Linked DNA regions of Homo sapiens: all the other regions are linked to region 1. The links are contacts of gene promoters, found by promoter capture Hi-C in human tissues and cell types (Jung and others, 2019). All regions are on one chromosome and are shown on one strand. The core of a region is centred on a gene start or on the middle of the fragment in contact, and the rest is flanking DNA. Distances in the headings are between cores, read along the strand shown. Region 1 holds the start of CHD9 (chromodomain helicase DNA binding protein 9). Region 2 overlaps LOC102723373 (a long non-coding RNA gene). Region 3 has its middle 97 kb from the start of RBL2.

What was found. The method cuts DNA at HindIII sites, captures the fragments that hold promoters and counts their contacts. A contact is called where the count stands out against the background at its distance.
Region 2: a fragment that was not itself captured here is called in contact with the fragment with the promoter of CHD9 in region 1 in 1 of the 25 tissues and cell types used here (thymus).
Region 3: a fragment that was not itself captured here is called in contact with the fragment with the promoter of CHD9 in region 1 in 4 of the 25 tissues and cell types used here (hippocampus, mesendoderm cells, small bowel and 1 more).

Annotation. Positions count from the first base shown.
Region 1 is chr16:53,053,037-53,057,712 of GRCh38, reverse strand. It overlaps CHD9 (chromodomain helicase DNA binding protein 9), which reads right to left and starts at 2,722. Exons shown (of 39, transcript NM_001308319.2): 1 at 2,636-2,722. RefSeq lists enhancers at 2,335-2,384, 1,897-2,428. The HindIII fragment of the contact is 13,928 bases long and covers 1-4,676 here.
Region 2 is chr16:53,381,212-53,385,887 of GRCh38, reverse strand. LOC102723373 (a long non-coding RNA gene) reads right to left here. Exons shown (of 3, transcript NR_119378.1): 3 at 1,629-1,714. Among named protein-coding and RNA genes, the nearest start is that of RBL2, 51 kb to the left of the region's middle. The HindIII fragment of the contact is 9,705 bases long and covers 1-4,676 here.
Region 3 is chr16:53,335,086-53,339,761 of GRCh38, reverse strand. It overlaps the pseudogene RNA5SP427. Among named protein-coding and RNA genes, the nearest start is that of RBL2, 97 kb to the left of the region's middle. The HindIII fragment of the contact is 8,519 bases long and covers 1-4,676 here.

The DNA of each region.
Region 1 (4,676 bases), core at 1,473-3,972:
ATATTGATTTGGAAGTTACGCAGACATTATTTTTCTTTTTTCTTTCTTTTTTTTTTTTGAGATGGAGTTTCGCTGTTGTTGCCCAGGCTGGAGTACAATGGCGTGATCTTGGCTCACTGCAACTTCCACCTCCCAGGTTCAAGCAATTCTCCTGCCTCAGCCTCCCAAGCAGCTGGGATTACGGGCTCTTGCCACCACGCCCAGCTAATTTTTTGAATTTTTAGTAGAGACGGGGTTTTGCCATGTTGGCCAGGCTGGTCTCGAACTCTTGACCTCAGGTATCCACCCACCTCGGCCTCCCAAAGTGCTGGGATTACAGGCATGAGCCACTGCACCCGGCCTTTTTTCCTCTTTTTTTTTTTAAATGAGCCAAGGTCTCTCTATGCTGTCCAGGCTGGTCTCAAACTCCTTAGCTCAAGTGATTAGGCTGGTGTCAAACTCCTAAATTCAAACTCCTAACCTCACACCTCAGTCTCCCAAAGTGCTGGGATTACAGGTGTGAGCCACCACACCCGGCCACAAACATATTTTTTTAAAAATTCTTTAATTATATAATTTTTAAAATAAAGATATAGGGTCTTACTGTGTTACCCAGGCTGATCTGGAACTCCTAGCCTCAAGTAATCTTTCTGCCTCAGCTTCCCAAAGTACTGGGATTATATGCATGAGCCACCATGCCTGGCCACAAACAAATTTTTTTTAAGAATTATTCAATGTGTATAATTTTTAAGCAAACAGGGCCTTGCTCTGTTGCACAGGCTGATCTGAAACTCCTAGCCTCAAGCGATCCTCCTGCCTCAGCCTCTCAAAGTGCTGGGATTACAGGGAAGAATTTGCAAATTTAGAACTTGTGAATAATGAGAATCTACTGCACTTTCTTCCTGTTTCTCTCATTCGGGGCTGGCTGAATTCTGTCTTACTCATATTTTATCTCTAGCATCTGGAAAACTGCCTGGCCCACAGTAGGCTCTCAATAATAAATGTATTTCCAATGAGCGAATGAGTCAATTCAGTGGAAGTGCTCAGCTCACAGCAGTGATAGCTAGTGTTTGTGAAGACACACCACGCGCCTGCCCCGTGCACGCTGTCCTGGTCAACAAGGGAAACAGCAGAGTATTGTTCTTTTGCACCTGAGCTCAAGAGCAGACTGCCTGGGTTCAAATATGGGACATGCTTCTTATTAATTAATTATATAACTTCGAGCAAGATCATTGGCCTCTCTGAGCCTCAGTTTCCTTGGCTATCAAATGCAGTATTCATAGTTCTACCGTGGAAGTTATGGTCAGGAGTCTAACTTGGCCCTGCACAGAAAGCCTCTAGCATAGGGTGAACCCTTAGTAAACAGTAGCTTTTATTGTGAATAATTCCCAAGGCAACCCGATTTTCACACCCATTTTGCAGATACAAAAACTGAAGCTGAGGATGGTTCAGTGAGTTTCCAAGGTCACAAAGGAAGGGCTGCCTATGGGGGGGAATCTATGCCCATGTTAGTAACACTGCTGTTATATAAACATAAGGGGTCAGCGGGGCGCAGCGGCTCATGCCTATAATCCCAGCACTTTGGGAGGCCGAGGCTGGAGAATGGCTTGAGCCTAGGAGTTTGAGACCATCCTGGGGAATATAGTGAGGCCCTATCTCTATAAAACAAACAAACATAAGGGCTCATTTTTACTAGTTGTAAAAGGGCCCTTTTACTAGTTGTAAAAAAGGCTCGTTATAAGGCCTCTCACTGCCTAATCAGCTAGGTTTGCCAAAATGAGGAAGACAGCTCCAGCCAGTCTCCTGATCTTCTCTGGGATCAGGGTGGGGAGGAACCCCCTTCCTACCCATAAACCCCTAAGAGTCTTCGCTCACATTCCACACTGGTGTCTTTCTGTTCCTTGTCCACTTTCGAGTTCAACCCTTTCAGAACCAGCCCTACTGTGGGGGGTGGGGGATGGTTAGTTTGTTATCTTGGGTTTGACAGTACAAAGGCAGAGGCATTTCCTGCTTAAAAGGCACATGAGAAAGGAGGAGGAGGGCGAACTGGAGGAATAGGAGGAGGAGGGAATCATCAGCATTCTGGGTTAGAACAAACAAATGTCCTCCGTTTTTCTCCAACTCCTTAGATCAAGGGTCCTCAAATTTGGCTGCCAGCTGGAATCTCTTGCAAACATTTTAATACCCAGATGTCCAGTCCCCCACCCAGACCAATCACATCTGAGTCTCTGGGGGGGGGCGGGGGTGGAACTAGGGCATCGGTATTTTTTTAATGCTTCCCAAGCAACGCCAACGGGCAGACAAGTTTAAGAAGTGGTGCTCTGGACCTTATCAGCACTCGGCTGCCACCCTGGAGTGGCTCTGGGCGACAGTGGCTGCTTTCCGCTTCGAGGACGCCCGGCTTGGGGATTCGGGCATGCTCTGGGAGGCGAGGGCTGGGGAGGATGCGAGCGTGCCAGCGACCTGGTGCTCTGCCTTGCTCTAGGCCCAGCTCCGAGGCTGCGGGTCTCTGGGTCCCCCCCACGGCTACAACACGTGCTGCCGCCCCGACTCCTCCGGTTATCTCTGCAGACCGCAAGCGGTGCCCAGCGGCCGCCCCGCTGTCCACCCCGACCTCAGAGGCTCCAGGGAGACGCCCGGGGCTCAGGAATCCTACCTTGGCTGCCGGCGCTGCCCTCCAGTCCCCGGAATCCTGGGACTCAGGTTCGAGCTGTCGCTGTCGCTGTCGCTGCGCCTGTGAAGCGCCCACTAGAGCGCAGGCGCCACCTAGTGGGCGCGGGGCGGCTGCGCAGGGACCGCGCTGGCAGGCGGGAGCGCAGTCCAGGGCGGAAATGCAGCCAGGGCTTCTTCCCACGTGGGCGGTTTTCCAGCGCGCCGCCAGCCCTGTGGCCAGATCCGGCCTGGGGCGGGACCACCTTCACCCGCTGCGGGGCACTGGGATCTAAACTTGGTGAACTTTCTCTTGGGGCACGGAGGGACCCCTCGGCCTGGTATCCATCCTCCGGTTTTCCGGGCTGAGCACAAGGATCTTTCCCTTCATCCAGCAGCTTTCAGTGCACCCCACCTTTGGCACTGCTTCTCTTTTAAATGTGCTGGGACCATCCGAGGCTGGGGTTCTCTCCAACCCAGGGAGGCCCTTCGCCTATCAGCAACCATTTTTTCCTGCCACCCCCTAAACCGTCCCTGAATGAGAGAAACAGCCTGCTCTGCTGGCTTGCTCTACAGAGGCCAGGACTGGTGGAGGATGGGTGTGTGCCAGCGACCTCGTGCTCTGCTCTGCTGGAAGGCCTTCTCTGAGCAGTGGAAGGGGAAGGGGCGGCTTAAGGGAATTGTGTTTTTTGTTTTTTGTTTTGTTTTGTTTTGTTTTTGTAGAGACAAGGTCTCTCTATGTTGCCCTGGTGGCTCTTGAACTCCTGGTCTCAAGCGATCCTCTCACCTGCAGCCTCCCAAAGCACTGGGATTACCGGAGTAAACTATGGCTCCCAGCTGCCTGGTATTCTTTCAATGAAGACATGCCAAAACGCTTACAAATATGGTGGACATTTAATGGTTTATATTTCATTTATGTCTTCATTTAACAACGATTAACTGAGCACCTACTATGTGCCACTTTTCTACAATCAAGGGATACAATGAAGAACAAAACACAAAAATCTCTGCTTTTGTTGAATTCACATTTAATGTAACACATGAATACTTTTAACACACCCAACGATCTAATGCAAAGCGATTGAGCTCGTTGTGAGATAAGTAGAGGATTTATTAAAAATATCTATATTTAGGGCCAGGCACCGTAGCTCACGCCTGTAATCCCAGCACTTTGGAAGGCTGAGGCAAGAGGATCGCTTGAGGTCAGGAGTTTGAGACCAGCCTAGCCAACATGGCAAAACCCAGTCTCTACAAAAAATACAAAAATTAGCCGGGCGTGGTGGCAGGAGCCTGTAATCCCAACTACTCCAAGGCTGAGGTGGGAGAATCCCTTGAACCCGGAAGGAGGAGGTTGCAGTGAGCTGAGATCGCACCACTGCACTCCAGCCTGGGTGACAGAGTGAGACTCTGCCTCAAAATCAATCAATCAATCAATCAATCAATCTATGTTTAGGGCGCCAAGGGCAGACATTCCTGGTGATGGATATAAGCATTACAGAGTTCTATGGGAACGTCTTCACGTTTTCTTGTAATCCTGGCAGTTTATCTCTGTGGCAACATTTGGAGATAATGCCTTCAGTGGAAATTTCAGGTGATTTGTGAAAGTTAGGCCTGCAATCCTCCTTTCCCCCTCCCCCCGGCCCCCACTCTGCTCCCCCAGGACGCTCTGTCATTGTTCTAGCCCAGTGTGAGTTTGTGTGTGAGTGTGTGCCTATTTAACCTTTGGACTCTCTGTACTGGTGTAATCTGGTCAAAGTGAATATCAAGGGCAGAGGAGGACAAGGAGGAGCAGGAGGAGAAGGAGGATGAGGAGCAGGAGGAGGAGCAGGAGGAGGAGGAGCAGGAGAAAGGAGGAGAAGCAGGAGCAGGAGGAAGAGGAGCAGGAGAAGAAGGAGCAGAAGGAGGAGGAGCAGGAGGAGGAGAAGGAGGAGGAGCAGGTGGAGGAGGAGGAGCAGGAGGAGGAGAAGCAGGAGGAGCAGAAGGAGAGGAGGAGCAGGAAGAGGAGGAGAAAGAGCAGGAGGAAGAAGAGGAGGAGAAGCAGGAGGAGG
Region 2 (4,676 bases), core at 847-3,346, 330 kb before region 1:
ATCACTTGAGCCTGGGAGGTGGAGGCTGCAGTGAGCAGAGATCATGCCACTGCACTCCAGCCTGGGTGACAGAGTCAGATTCCATCTCAAATAAAATTTCAAACAAAATGAAAGAATTGAAATAAATAGCTCAGTAGACAGGCTCTACAACAGAGTGGAAAGGAGAGAGGAGAGAACCAGTGAACCTGGAAAGAGAAACTACCCTGACCAACAGAGAGAAGGGAGACAAAAACAGAAGAGAAAGGTCCACAGGGACTTTTGGAATTATGTCCTGTGACATTAAAAAAACTGAAATCATACAGAATATGCTTTCTAACCAAAATAGAATCAAATTAGAAATCAACAGGAAAAAGGTAACAGGAAAATTTCCAAACACTTAGAAACTAAACAACTCCCTTCTAAATAATCCATGGGTCAAAGAAGAAGTCTCATCTCATGGGAAATAGAAACAAACAAACAAAGAATAACAAAAGTATCTACCCAGAATCAAATGAAAATACAGCATATAAAAATGTGTGGTATACCAATACCCAAGAGCTGTGAGGGAAATTTATAGCACTAAATGCTTATATTAGAAAACATGTTGGATCAATACTTGAAGCTTTCGCATACAGAAAATAAAACAAAAAGAAAAACAAAACCAAAGTATTGGGGGAACCAGCCCCCAATATTTCAATGTAGGTTCTTTTCTATTTTCCCTAAGTGTCGGCCAGTCTGAGAAATAAAGAGAAAGAGTACAAAGAGAGAAATTCTACATCTGGGCCTCCAGGGGTGACATCACATGTCGGCAGGTTCCGTGATGCCCCTTGAGCCGCAAAACCAACAAGTTTTTATTAGGGATTTGAAAAGGGGAAGGGGGTATGAACAGGGAGTAAATCACACAGATCACATGCTTCAAGAGGCAATAAAAGATTACAAGCGCAGAAGGGCAGAGCGAGATCACAGGGCCAGGGTGAAATTAGAATTACTGATGAGGTTCCATGTCCCACTGGGCACGCATTGTCTTGATAAACATCTTAGCAGGAAATAGGGTTCGAGAGCAGACAACTGGTCTGATTAGAATTCGCCAGGCTGGAATTTCCTAATCCTAGCAAGCCTGAGGGCGCTGCAGGAGACCAGGGTGTATTTCATCCCTTATCTTCAACCACATAAGACAGACACTCCCAGAGCAGCCATTTTAGAGACCTCCCCCTGGGAATGCTTTCCTTTCCCAGGGCTATTCCTTGCTGAGAAAAGAATTCGCAATATTTCTCCTATTCGCTTTCTGTAAGAAGAGAAATACGACTCTGTTCTGCCCGGTCCTGCAGGCAGTCAGACCTTATGGTTATCTCCCTTGTTCTCTGAAAATCACTGTTATCCTGTTCCTTTCAAGGTGCCCAGATTTCATATTGTTCAAACACACACGCTTTACAAACAACTTGTGCAGATAATGCAATCATCACAGGGTCCTGAGGCGACATACATCCTCAGTTTAGGAAGATGATGGGATTAAGAGATTAAAGACAGGCATAGGAAATTATAAGAGTATTGATTGGGGAAGTGATAAATGTCCATGAAATCTTCACAATTTATGTTCAGAGATTGCAGTAAAGACAGGCATAAGAAATTATAAAAGTATTAATTTGGGGAACTAATAAATGTCCATGAAATCTTCACAATTTATGTTCTTCTGCTGTGACTTCAGCTGGTCCCTCTGTTCAGGGTCCCTGACTTCCTGCAACACCAAAGCAAGCAAAAAATAATACAAATGAGATCATGAAATTGAAAACAGAAAAATAGAGAAAAATGAAACAAAAAGCATTTTTTAAAAGACCAGTAAAACTGATTAACCTCTAATATGACTAATAGAAATAATAAGAGAGAAGACACAAATCACCAACATTAGGAATGCACCAGGGGATATAATCCCAGATCCTGAAGATATAAAAATTATATTAAGGAAATATTACAAATAATTCTCCAGATATAATAAACCTGACAAGTAAGATGAAATGGCTAATTTCAAAAAAACACAAATAACCACAACATCTATTATTAGGAAATAAACAACTTAAATAGCACTACTCAAATAATTATTAAGAAAATCAAGGCCAGGCGCAGTGGCTCATGCCTGTAATCCCAGCACTTTGAGAGGCTGAGGTGAGAGGGTTGTTTGAGCCCAGGAGTTTGAGGCTGCCATGAGCTATAATCACACCATTGCACTGCAGCCTAGGCCACAGAGCAAGACCCTGTTTCTAAAAAACACACCAGGCCAGGTGCGGTGGCTCACGCCTGTAATCCCAGCACTTTAGGAGGCCGAGGCAGGTGGATCACTTGAGGTCAGGAGTTCTTGACCCACCTGGCCAATATGGGGAAATCCCATCTCTATGAAAAATACAAAAATTAGCTGGGCGTGGTGACACATGCCTGTAGTCCCAGCTACTGGGGAGGCTGAGGCAGGAGAATCACTTGAACCTGGGAGGCAGAGGTTGCAGTGAGCTGAGATCGTGCCACTGCACTCCAGCCTGGGTGACAGAGTGAGACTCCATCTCAAAAAAATAAAAAATAAAATAAAAAAGCAGATCAAATTCTTAATTCAAAAAGTCCCAAAAGGAAATCTCCAGTCACAGACATATTTACTGCCAAACCCTACCAAATGCTTAAAGAACTAATGCCAATTCTACACAATGCCTTCCTGGAAATAGAAAAGGAGACTGCTTCCCATGTATTTAATGAGGCCAGCAACCTTAATACCAAAATTAAGTGAAGACCAGAAAAAAAAAACAAAAAACCCCCACAAAGCTACAGACCAATATCTCTCTATATTTAGATGCAAAATCTCTTAGCAAAATGCAAGCAAATATATATTGTTCAACACTGTATAAAAGAATCGAATGGCATGACCAAGGGGGATCCCTTCCATAGATTCAAAGCTGGTTCAATATTTTAAAAATCAATGTAATTAACTATACAAACATGTCAAAAAAGAAAAATCACATGATCATACTCATTGACGTAGAGAAAGCATTCAATAAAACTCAATACTTATTCATGATAAAAACACTCAGAAAATTATCAACAGTGTAGAACTTCCACAACTTGATAAAGAACATCTACTCCAAACCTACAGGTAACATAATATTTAAAGAAAGAATGTATGCCTTTCCCCTAAGGTAAGGAAAACACAAGGATGTCCACCTTTCACCACTATTATTCAATATGGTACTGGAATTTCTAGCAAGCATGGTAAGTCGAGAAAAAACATATAGATTATAAAGGAAGATGTAAAACTGTCCCTATTTGGAAATAATATAAGGAACTATGGGGAAAATCCCAAAGGATCTTCAAAATAATTCCTTCAACTAATAAGTGATTTCACCAATACGAGCATACAAGATCAACATGGAAATAAACTCAGATTCGAGAAATCAATTAGAGGCATATATGAATTGAGAAATACAACATAAGGCCGGGCGTGGTGGCTCATGCCTGTAATCCCAGAACTTTGGGAAGCCAAGGCAGGCAGATCACGAGGTCAGGAGATGGAGACCATCCTGGCTAACACTGTGAAACCCCATCTCTAATAAAAATACAAAAAGTAAGCCAGGCGTGGTGGTGGGCACCTGTAGTCCCAGCTACATGGGAGGCTGAGGCCGGAGAATGGCGTGAACCCAGGAGGTGGAGTTTGCAGTGAGCCGAGATCAAGCCACTGCACTCTAGCCTGGGCAACAGAGCAAGACTCCATCTCAAAAAAAAAAAAAAAAAAAGAGAGAAGAAAAGAAAAGAAAAATATAACATAAAGCAATTCCTTTTTGCAAGTGATGTGACAGCATATCTAGAAGCCCTAACAATCAAAAGATAAAACTAGCTCAAACAATAAATTCAGTAAGGTAAAATGATATAGAGTTAACCAACAAAAATCAAGAGTCTTCAAACATATAATTAATAAGTTAGAAAAAATAACACTACAAAAAAATCCCATTACAGTAGCAAAAAATAATTTAGGAAAAATGTTAATTAGAAATGCACAAAAACTATATGATGAAAACTTAAACACACTTCTGAAAGGTACAGAAGCAGAAAGGCACACATTGAATAATATGAAAATACATATGGACAACATGCAATGTGTTTAGAATTTCAGAATATTGAAAATAACCTAAATGCTCTTCTATAGAATGGCTGAATAAGGTATGGTACATACTTGTTATGGGTAGACTGTGTCTTCCAAAAGGATGTTGAAGTCCTACACCCAGTACCTGTAAATGTGACCTTGTTTGGAAACAAGGTCTTTGCAGATGGTTAAGTTAAGATGAAGTGATCAGGGAGAGCCCTAATCCAGTATGACTGGTATCTTTATAAGAAAGGGAAAACTGGGCACACAGACAGCCATGCACACAGAAAAAAATGTCACGTGAAGATAAAGGCAAAGACTGGAGTGATGTGTCTACAACCCAAAGAATGGTACTGTCAGCAAACTACCATAAGCTAGGACAGAGGCACAGAACACATTCTCTCTCAGAAGGACCTCAGAAGGAACCAACCCTGCTAACACCCTGGTCTCAGACTTCTAGCTCCAGAATTATGAGAGAATAAATTTCTGCTAAGCAACCCGGTTTGTGGTACTTAATTATGGCAGCCCTAGCAAACTAATATCATAATCAGTGCATACTATGATACTATAAAAATGAATAAGC
Region 3 (4,676 bases), core at 956-3,455, 280 kb before region 1:
GGTTCAAGCAATTCTTGTGCCACAGCCTCCCGAGTAGCTGGCATTACAGGTGCATGCCACCTCATTTTTGTATTTTTTTTTTTAATAGAGACAAGGTTTCACCATGTTGGCCAGGTTGGTCTTGAACTCCTGACCTCAAGTGATCCATCTGCCTCGGCCTCCCAAAGTGCTGGGATTGCAGGTGTGAGCCACCATGGCTGGTCAAGTTTAACATTTTTTACCTTGAGTTCATAGGTTTTAGTTTTGTTAGCTTATTAAAACCTTTAGAGATATAGTCCATGTACCATACAATTCACTCGTTTAAAGTGTACAATTCAAGGCCAAGTGCATTGGCTCATGCCTGTAATCTCAACACTTTGGGAGGCTGAGGTAGAAGGATTGCTTGAGCCCAGGAGTTCAAGGTTACAGTGAGTGACAGCACAACTGCACTCCAGCCTGGGTGACAGAACGAGTCCCTGTCTCTAAAAGAAAAAAAAAAGGAAACCTGTAACCATTAGCAGTTACATGTGAATGTCCCCAGTCTTAGACAACCACTAATCTCCTTTCTATCTTTATAGATTCACCTATTACAGACAGTTTATATAAATGGAATCATATGTGATCTTTTGTGACTGACCTTGAAACAGAACCCCAAGTTCAGGCTTGTGTGCCTGGCGTGAAGTTGATGCCAAACACTGACACACAGGTGGTTGGAGAGAGAGAAAGGTTTTTTTTGATTTGACTAAAACCAGAAGGTGGGAAAAGCAAAATCTCTCAATTCTGTCTATCAAGAATGAAAAGCAAATAGTTTTATGTGGCTAGAGAGTAAGGTAGGGGGAGTTTCAAGGAACCGAGGGGGAAAAGTCTGCGTTTCTTCAGTCTCGGATAACATCTTGAATAAGCAGATTGCTGGGTTACAGCAGTTGGTTACAATGTCCTTAAAGGACATTCATTCCTTCTGCAAAATAAAATAAAATAAAAGTTTCAAGTTTAATTTTAGATTCAGGGGTTACATGTGCAGGTTTGTTACATGAGTATATTGCATGATACTGAGGTTTAGGGTATGAATGATCCTGTCATCCAGGTACCGAGCATAGTACTCAATAGTTTTTCAACTCCTGTCTCCTTTCCTCCCTCCCCTGGTAGAAGTCCCCAGAGTCTATTGTTGCCATCTTTATGTTCAAGAGTGCCCAATGTTTAGCTCCCACTTATAATTGAGAACATGCAGTATTTAGTTTTCTCTTTCTGCATTGATTCACTTACCATAATGGCCTCCACCTGCATCCATGTTGCAGTAAAGGACATGATTTTGTTCTTTCTTCTGCAAAGTTTTTTCTTTTTTCTTTTCTTTTTTTCTGGGGAGGACGGAGTCTAGCTCTGTCACCCAAGCTGGGGTGCAATGGTGCGATCTCAGCTCACTGCAACCAGGTTCAGGTGATTCCCCTGCCTCAGCCTCCTGAGTAGCTGGGATTACAGGCACCCACCACCACACCTGGCTAATTTATGTATTTTTAGTAGAGACAGAGTTTCGCCATGTTGGCCAGGCTGGTCTCAAACTCCTGACCTCAGGTGATCTGCCTGCCTCAGTCTCCCAAAGTACTGGGATTACAGGCGTGAGCCACCGCACCTGCCCCTTTCTTCTGAAAATTTTTTTCATGACCCTGAAGTTATCTTCTGCTTGACAAAGAAACAGCACATCAGCAGTTTATATTATAATTATATCATGGGAACAAAGGATGCTGGCTTTTGTGTAAGGAAGCAAGGGCCTATGAGAATTTTCATTATTTCAGTCACTAAAAATGTTGGGGTGCTGAAATTTCAAGGGGCTCTGTTACAACTTTTTTCACTTAGAATAATGTTTTCAAGATTTATCTCTGTTGCAACATATGTCAGTCCCTCCTTCCTTTTTATGGTTAAATATTCCATTGTATGGATAGACCACACATCTCATTTATTCATCTGTTGATGGACATTTGGGTTGTTTCTACTTTTGGGCTATTCTGAATAATACCGCTATAAATATTTGTCTGTAAGTTTTCAGGTGAACATGGTTTCATTTCTTTCAGTACATACTAGGAATAGAATTGCTGAGCCATAGGTAACAACATCATGGTTAATAGTTTGAGGAATTGCAAAACTGTTTTCCAAAGGGAAAACAGTTCCCTTTGTTTCTTTTGTTTCTTTTTTTCTTTTTCTTTTTTTTTTCCTTTAAGTCTACAGCACCCAGTATTTCCAGGCAGTCTTCCATGCAAGTACTAACCAGGCCCCACCCTGCCCAGCTTCTGAGATCAGATGAGATCTGGCATGTTCAGGGTGGTGTAGCCATAGACTGGGGCCATGCCTTTGTACATTCCCTCCTGCAATGTGTGAGAATTGTAATTTGTCCACTTTCTCACTAATACTTTTAGTGTCTCTTTAATTCTGGCCATCCTGAGGGGTGTGAAGTGGTATCTCATTTTAGTTTTGATTTGCATTCACATAATGGCCAATAACGTTGAGGACCTTTTCATGTGTGTATTGGCTATTTGTATATCTTTGGAGAAATGTCTGCTCAAATCCATTGCTCCTTTTAAAATTGAGTTTTTATCTTTATTTTTGAGTTGTAAGAGATCTTTATATGTTCTGGATACAAGTTACTTATCAGATACATGATTTACAAATATTTTCTCCAGTTCTGTGGGTTGTTTGTTCTCTTTCTTTTTACTTACTATTATTTTTGTAGATTTGGAGTCTCTCTCTGTTGCCCAGGCTGGTCTTGAACTTCTGGGCTCAAGCAAATTTTCCTGCCTTGGCCTCCTAAAGTACTGGGATTACAGGAATGTGCCACCACGCTCAGCCTTCTCTTTCTTGAAGGTGTCCTTTGAAGCACTAAATATATTAATTTTGATGTTTATTTTTTCTTTTATTACTTGTGCTTTTAATGTCAAGTCTAAGAAGCTTTTGCATAATTCAAGGTCACAAAGATTATTCTATGCTTTCTTCTAAGAGTATTTATTTATTTATTTATTTATTGTCTTGAGACGGAGTCTCACTCTGTCACCCACGCTGGAGTGCAGTGGCGTGATCTCGGCTCATTGCAAGCTCTACCTCCCGGGTTCACGCCATTCTCCTGCCTCAGCCTCCCGAGTAGCTGGGACTACAGGTGCCTGCCACCACGCCTGGCTAATTTTTTGTATTTTTAGTAGAGACGGGGTTTCACCGTGTTAGCCAGGATGGTCTCGATCTCCTGGCCTCGTGATCCGCCTGCCTCGGCCTCCCAAAGTGCTGGGATTACAGGCATGAGCCACCGTGCTCAGCCTCTTCTAAGAGTTTTATAATTTCATCTCTTACGTTTAGGACTATGATCGATTCTGAGTGCAACTTCATTTTTTTGTGTATGGATATTCAGTTGTTCCAAATATCCTTTCCCCCATTGAATTGTCTTGGCACTCTTTTCAAAGATTAACTGCTCATTCAAACGGTACAAAGTTTCTGTTACACAGGATGAATAAGTTGTCGAGATCAAATGTACAACATAATAACTACAGTTAGTAATACTATATTGAATATTTGAAATTTGTTGAGAGTAAATCTTAAGTGTTAACACACACACACACACGGTAACTATGTTAGATGATGGATATGTTAGCTTGCTTGATTGTGGCAATTATTTCACAGCACATATCAAAACAACATGATCAGCTGGATGTGGTGGTTCATGCCTGTAATCCCAGAGCTTTGGAAGGCTGAGGGAGAGGATTGCTTGAGGCCAGGAGTACAGGACCAGCCTGGGCAACACGGCAAGAACCAAGACCTCATCTCTACTATATATATATATATATATATATATATATACATAAATTAGCCAGGCATGGTGTTGCACGTCTGTAGTCCTAGCTACTTCAGAGGCTGAAGGAGAATTGCTTGAGCCCAGGAATTTGAGTCTGCAGGAATTTGCATTACTGCACTCCAGTCTGGGTGAGAGTGAGTCTCTGTCTCAAAAAAAAAAAAAAAAAAAAAAAAAAAAGAAAAAGCAAAAAAGACACGACATCCACTTTTAAATATATACAATTTTTATTTGTCAATTGTACCTCAGTAAGGCTGGAAGAAAAATCAACCAACCATAAATGTTAAGGGTTTATTTCTAAACTCTTATTTCTGTTCCATTAATCCATTTGTTTATATCAATTCCTACACAATACTGTCTTGATTATTATGTCTTTGTAGTAAGTTTTGAAATCAGGAAGTGTGACTACTCCAACTTTGTTCTTTTAAAAAATTTGTTTTGTCTATTTCTGAGTCCCTTGTATTTCTATATGAACTTTAGGATAAAATGGTCAATTTCTGCAAAGAAGCCACCTGGGAATACAATGGATTTTTGTATATTGCTGTCATATTCTGCAACCTTGCTAAGCTTGTTTATTCATTTTCTAATAATAATATTTTGTTTTTTTAGTACATTCCTTAAGATTTTCTATATACAAGATCATATCATCTGAAACAGAGATATTTTTACTTCCTTTTCCCATCTGCATGTCTTTTTTTCTTTTCCTTGCCTTATTGCCCTGGGCAGAACTTCCAAAATAATGTTGAATAAAGGCTAGCAGGAGTGAATATCTTTGTCTTGTTCTTGACTTAGGAGAAAATAGTCTTTCACCAGTAAGAATGGTAGTAGTTGTGGGTTTTACATAGATGTCTTTTATCAGGTTGAGGAAATT